2 separate regions of the Homo sapiens genome follow, and region 2 is linked to region 1. The links are contacts of gene promoters, found by promoter capture Hi-C in blood cells and fetal thymus (Javierre and others, 2016). All regions are on one chromosome and are shown on one strand. Each heading gives the region's core, a stretch centred on a gene start or on the middle of the fragment in contact. The rest is flanking DNA. Distances are from core to core; before and after follow the strand shown.

Region 1 (3,085 bases), core at 396-2,895:
CCTCTGAGGCCCACAAAAGTGCAATCATAGAACAATAGGGTCAATACATTTCTTATCAAGGGTTCACCTACTTTGATATCACCCATTCTTGGAAGGGAACTCAGGTCAAACTGTTATCAAACAAATATATAAATAGATAAACTAAATGAAGCTAATGAAGAGACCACAATCAAATAGTCCTGGGAAAGACTATTAGCTGGCCTTCTTCAGAAATAAACATGCAGGGAAAAATTGAGAAAGGACAAAGGAGAAGGTCATGCACCTCTAAGAATAGAGCAAATAAAGATATTAGTTTAAGACAACGGTCCTCCAGGTAAATATAAAAGCTAAGTTCTTACCACCAACATGAACAAGTGAAATACACTTATTTGATGGAAAACTTACGGGCACAAAGCAATTGTTGACCAAATAGCAGAAACCAGTCTACAAAAATCATAATTAAAAATACAAGTATAATTCTGTTAATTAGGCATAGAAATTTATAATCTCCACGTCTTACAATTGTCCAGTGTTTATTCATGTACCTAAATTAAACTAAAATAATTTCAATCCAGGCAAACCACCCTGAAAGATTTTTTTCTTAAGATGTTTATATCTAAACCCATGCTCAGATCAGCAAAAACATTTAGAAAGGAAAATATTCTATTAAATTTTTTAAAAACATTTTATTGGGGGATCGTTAAATATAAATAATCCATTTTAAATAATATAAACACGTAGCAGAAGTACATAAAACATACTTTCATTTTCTAAAACATAGAGAACAGTAACTTCTTCGCCTCCAAAAGAACAGACCATTTAATACCATTTAAAAAAATCTTTTGGCATTCCTATTGCCCTTCCCATAACTAAATGAATCAGTGACACGTGTATATATATACATATATTGGAGATGGAGTTTCGTTCTTGTTGCCCAGGCTGGAGTGCAATGGTGCAATCTTGGCTCACTGCAACCTCTGCCTCCCGGGTTCAAGTGATTCTCCTGCCTCAGCCTCCCAAACAGCTGGGATTACGGGCGCCCAGCTAATTTTTTCTACATGTTGGTCAGGCTGGTCTCGAACTCCTGACCTCAGGTGATCCTCCCACCTCGGCCTCCCAAAGTGCCGGAATTAGAGGCGTGAGCCACCACACCCAGCCCTGATGTATATATTTGAATCTGCTGTTTATTCATATGTTGAATAAACATTCACAGTTGGGATTACTGGCATACATCTTCCACAATTATAACATTATTTTAGCTAGTGAATAATAAAACTAATTTGATTTTGGTTAACTTCTTTTCAATACAGATGGTTTAAAAATAAGACAAAGCCTGTCTTTTTCTATTGTGATCTTAAAAATATCTTTCTAACATGCTTTTTAAAAAAAATACATAAGTATGCTACCACTGCCTTGTAGTAAACTTTAGAAAATGTTGAGATTCCAAAGGGCTGCCTACAAACCAAATGGCATCCTAGCTTTGGCAGGCTGATGCTTCATTTTGGCTGCTCTCGCCCCCTCTAGCGTTTGCAAAGCTCATCTGTCTGATTATCCAGTTACCTCACTGAACAAGATCTTGGCTAAGTCCTGCCCATCTATGACATCACCCCCTTCTTCAGCCACTGCGAGGTGAAGCTTTAAACTTCAGACTTGGAGGTGGGCTGTGTGCAGTAAACTGGAATGCTCTCCCTCGCTCACTCCTCAGTGTAGGAGTGATCTGAAGCAGGACAAGCTCAGCCTGCAGCTGCCGTGGGCTTTGTGTGGACTGGACGCAGAGCTTGGGAGACGGGGGAGGGCTATTACTCCAATTCACTGTCAATGGAATTACAGCTATAGCGGCAGTGTATATAGGATTGCTTTTTCTCGTCTTCCTGGTAAGTGTTTTCCATGTTTTTTCTTATGATTGTCCCAGAAAGTTTGCTTGGTTTTACTCTCTAGAAAGAAACGACTTGATACTATGAGAAATCCAAATAGGAACGTTTGCTCTGTCACCACAACAAGCAATATATGTGCGTGCAAGCCAGCAATGAAAAATTTCACTATCATGGCTGAATGTAAGAAGTTTCTTAGAACCTTCTTTCATTTATAAAAGATAGTAAGTGGCTATTTTCTGTCTTGAGTAATTGCTATGTGAAAAGAGCCTTATGGAAAACAGCAAGTTGGAAAGTTCAATGTTAAATATTAAAGAATACAAGGAGATTCTTCACAGATAGGAAAGCAACTTGGTGTGTACTGTACGTGTGGGATGATCACCAATTGCTGTTTTTACAACTGTGAAAGAAAATCAATAATCCCTCAGCCCATGAGTACGCAGTACATGAAAAGCATACATCTTGCTCACAGCTAGCCGAGCTACTCCTGGAGACTTATGTGCCTCTGTAAAGGATTAACAGCTACACCTAGATTTTAAAGCTTGCACTGCTATCGTGCCTGAGCTGCTTCAAGCATTTCAGGCTTGCAAATCTCAACTAGTAAATTGAACTCAGAGGAGGGGGAGACACTCTTCCAAACCATATTCCCTCTTCAATAGAACACCAAAATCCATTGCTTAGGCAAGTGAAGTATGTGACTAGCATAGTAAATGGCTAAGTCTACTCAGAAAAACTAACAAAGCTCACCCTGGAAGCTATGCCTGATGTATGCAGTGAGTTTGGGGTAGCAGGAAAGAAAAATAAATGAGTAGAGCCCTTATCAAGTGGGTTTTGCAGAGGATCCATTCTTTGCAACTTATAATAGGAAAATCTTATATTGGAAGAAATGCATTTATACTACAAAGCTTGAAAAAGTAGTTAAATGTATCTTCTCAAAAAATTTTGTTCACTGAATTAGGTCTGAAACAAAATGGTTGCATATAGGTAAAGAGTGCAACAGGCCCATCCATGTCTTCTCAACATCTGGGGGGTTTGTTTTTATTATTTTATTTAGAATTTAAAAGAAAAAAAATTGATTTTTTTTTCAATTTTTAGTCCAAAATCTCTAATGGTTTTAATAATAAGGCTATTTTAAACATTCTTAATAAATCTGTCTATTAATAAATCTGTCTAAAATGCTCATCTATGTTATTTTATTATCCAGAAACAACATAAATAAAGCCACTAGAAAAGTC
Region 2 (3,447 bases), core at 425-2,924, 900 kb before region 1:
CTATTTCTTTCTTTCTCCTGGCTTCTTTCTCCTTGAGTCAATGTGAGTCATGCCTCTTAATTTGGTCTATAAGCTTTTCTGTTGTGCATCCTCCGGGATAGCTTACCTGCTAGTATACTGGGAGCAGGGAAATTTTCAGAACATGGGCTCAGAAGAGATGGAGAGACTGCACTAAAGTTACTCGTATGGGCTGAAATCTAGGTGTTTAATATACTGCTGAACTTAATTCATAATTATAAATTCAAACTATACCACTTTGATAAGACATCCAGGAAAGCAAATATTTCACTTTGCACAGTTTTGAAGGGTATGTGTTTGTGTGTGTATAAAATAAACAAACAAAAATAGCTAAAGTGCAGCTTGAACCCAATCTGTGACATGTTTTCCATTAAAAAAAATCCTCTTTGCAACTCCATTGAATTGTACATAAACAAGTCAAGAAAGCTTTCTTTCCACTGACAGATTTGTTTTTATTTTAAATTTTTTATTGTTTTTACTTGTTCTTTCTCCTTTGGTTTCTGAGTTCAACACCTTAAGAATAGCTTAGATTCCATACATTGCAATTGCTCTCCAAAAAAAAAAAAAAAAATCTGAACATTTGCAAGAAAAAATGTTTGGTTTAAAGCCATTGCCTTTGCTCTATACTATTAACCCTCTAGATATATGCCAAAATTGCCCAATTGTTCAAACCTAATGTCAGGCTTGGGACTCTGTGGTCCGTGTCTTCAATTGACTATTTCCTCATGATACAGTGATCTAATAACTGCCGCTCAGGTCAGGGAAAAATAAAGCACTCAAGATGAAAGCTTGCATTGCAAATCTCTTTACTGTTTCTATACAAATTTCACTGTAATATACTCTCTTTGACAGTGTGCTAGGCCAGTATTTCCTCTGGAAGACACTGTTGTAGAAACCAATAATGATTTTCCTGAGAATGTTCCCTAGCCTGATAAAAGAACAGAAAATAATTATGTTGACAAATCCAGCCAAATTGAGATGTTTTATACTTTCATTTTAAACATAGTTTTCTTGGTCTTGCTAGTAGACTTACATCTGCAGAATATACAAGTGACTAAAAATAATTCTTTCAAATTGTAGATGAAATAAAGCAAAAAGTTTCAGACACTCTTACAAAAAGAATTGATCACGGTCCTAAAGTAAGATTTTTGAAGGAAATATATGACAATATATTTCCCAAATCATTGAAAGAACACATAATTTGAAAGAAACTTTATATTAGAATAAAATCAAAGGTAGACTCCTGCTTAAATTGCTCACCTCTAATATGTGTCTTCTGATTGATGGACAACTTTACATGCATTCAACCTTGGGTGGCCAACTCTTCCGTAATTTGCATGATGAATCAAAGGTTAGGATTATGAGATCTTGAAAAAACTTTAACTAAGGTGACACAACACGTGATATTGTTTTTCTATTAGCTAAGCATTACATTCACTTTCATAAGACCATGTATTCTATAGGATATAAGGCCAGTCACATCAATTACCATTTTTATGACATCTATATCACACTATGCTTAAAGAAGCAGATAATTTGGATGCCTAACTTTAAGAATAAAAATCTTTGAGCAACCTGTGTTTAGCATATTCAATGTAGCTTTGCTCTATTAGAAACTCTGTTTAACTTAAACCAATGCTCTCAATTCTATCAGGCTCAGCAAACCCTTTTATAACAAATATTTTGTAAAGTCCCCTTGCTATGCAGAAATGACATTTATCAATATTAACACTCATCTGCACACATGAAACAGGCATCAGTGCCCCACCCATATCTGCCCAGTTCTCATCATTCTAGCACATGCCCATCCACAGCATCTTCTAGCAAATACCCTTGCTGTCACTCTCTGCCTGAGCTTTTTCCTTCTGCCTGCCCAAGCGGGCAGATAAGAAATGCTGGGAAGTTAATGACCCAGGAGCAGTCCTCAGCCAGCTGATGAAGGGGGAAAGATAAAAAAAAAAAATAGTCCAGCTTTTCTCCTCCCTCAGATGGGACCACTTCTAGGCATGTTCTACATGGTTGCTGAGAGCTCCCCAGCAAGACAGAGCCCCACTTGTCCACACTGCCAACTTATAACACTCCCACTCCTCCTGGCTGCTTTTTCTTCCCTTCCTCACATCCCCACTCCTCTGCGCTGTTCCCTGTCATCACCTCCTATAGAAAGCACGTGCACACAACACCTTGGCTCAGGGTCTGTTCCCAAGGGAAGCCAAATGAAAACAACACATCAATTTAAAAAAAATCAATAGAGTGCCATAAGTGTGATATGAAAATGATTTAAAATGAAAGTATTTATAGTAAAATTCTATTTTCAACATGTAAAGACAAGGGCATGAATACACTAGAACACGCAATGAAGAAGGAAGATGTTTGCTTCACTACGTAGAATCACTACAAAAAAAATTCTCTAAATGTGGACTCAACCAGGTGTGAAAAACTCTCCTGCTGCTTGGGCATGGCCATCTGTAGCATAATTTTCTCAGGCACTCTTGGTAAAGTTCTAAGCAAACTAAGTACAAGCTTCCTTTAATTTTCATGATAGTCCAGGATACAGTGAAAAAGAGAGAGAGGCTTTGTTTTGATGTATCTTGGTGTTTATAAACAGGTTTTCACTTATATGACTGTCTGGCAAAACGTTAAAACATTGTGTGGGAGGAGGGACAGTTTTCCCATGTGGGCTTGGCCAGACCACATGTCACAACATCCCTGTCCCTGCCCACAAAATGCTTGTGGCACTCCCTAGTTGTTGTCACTGCCCAAAACCACCCTCACAAAATGGTCCCTAGAGGGCAGTGCTACACCCACTGAGAACCACTGGTTTAGACAAAAAAAGGCACATAATAATGGAGGAAAGAAAAAGGAACTTCACAGTGGCTTAGGCCACTAGATTTAGACTACCTCAGTTTAAATCCCACCTCAACTTTTTGTTCAAGGTAAGACCTTAATTCACTTGAGCTAAGACCAGTAGTGTTACAGGTCCAACCTACAGATGGCAGGTTAGTGTAATAGCCCACAGAATGCATGGAGTTACGGTCGTCAACATAATGCTTAGCTAGTGGAGAAACAGAATCACGATATGCATCACCTTGGTTTTGGCTCATATCCTTGGATGAGGAATTGAGCCACAGGGAAGGCAGTTTCCTTCTGGTGCATATTCCTCATCTCTAAGATGGAAGAAATCACATTTTCTAACTCAGGATTGTTTTGAGAATTAATGACTAAAACACAGTGCCTGGCACCAAGTGGGAGTTCAGAAACATTTGCTATTCTTATTACTATATTTCATGGCTCAATGATTGATCTCATTCACCCCTCTAACTCAAATCATCTCTCTGGTGTGGCCACCAGAAGACACAAATTGTGCAGGATCTGTCAATGTGGGTTTGGTTGTATAACTATCTGTTTCCAAGGCACAGCCTGTGAATTTAC

The links. The method cuts DNA at HindIII sites, captures the fragments that hold promoters and counts their contacts. A CHiCAGO score of 5 or more calls a contact.
Region 2: a contact is called between a fragment that was not itself captured here and the fragment with the promoter of FLRT3 in region 1, in 6 of 17 cell types (megakaryocytes, endothelial precursors, fetal thymus and 3 more). The highest score is 22.7, in megakaryocytes.

Annotation. Positions count from the first base shown.
Region 1 is chr20:14,336,172-14,339,256 of GRCh38, reverse strand. It overlaps FLRT3 (fibronectin leucine rich transmembrane protein 3), which reads left to right and starts at 1,645. Exons shown (of 3, transcript NM_198391.3): 1 at 1,645-1,853. The region is part of intron 3 of MACROD2 (mono-ADP ribosylhydrolase 2); the gene reads right to left. The HindIII fragment of the contact is 777 bases long and covers 1,617-2,393 here.
Region 2 is chr20:15,236,327-15,239,773 of GRCh38, reverse strand. All of the region lies in intron 6 of MACROD2 (mono-ADP ribosylhydrolase 2), which reads right to left. Among named protein-coding and RNA genes, the nearest start is that of MACROD2-AS1, 310 kb to the right of the region's middle. The HindIII fragment of the contact is 1,732 bases long and covers 809-2,540 here.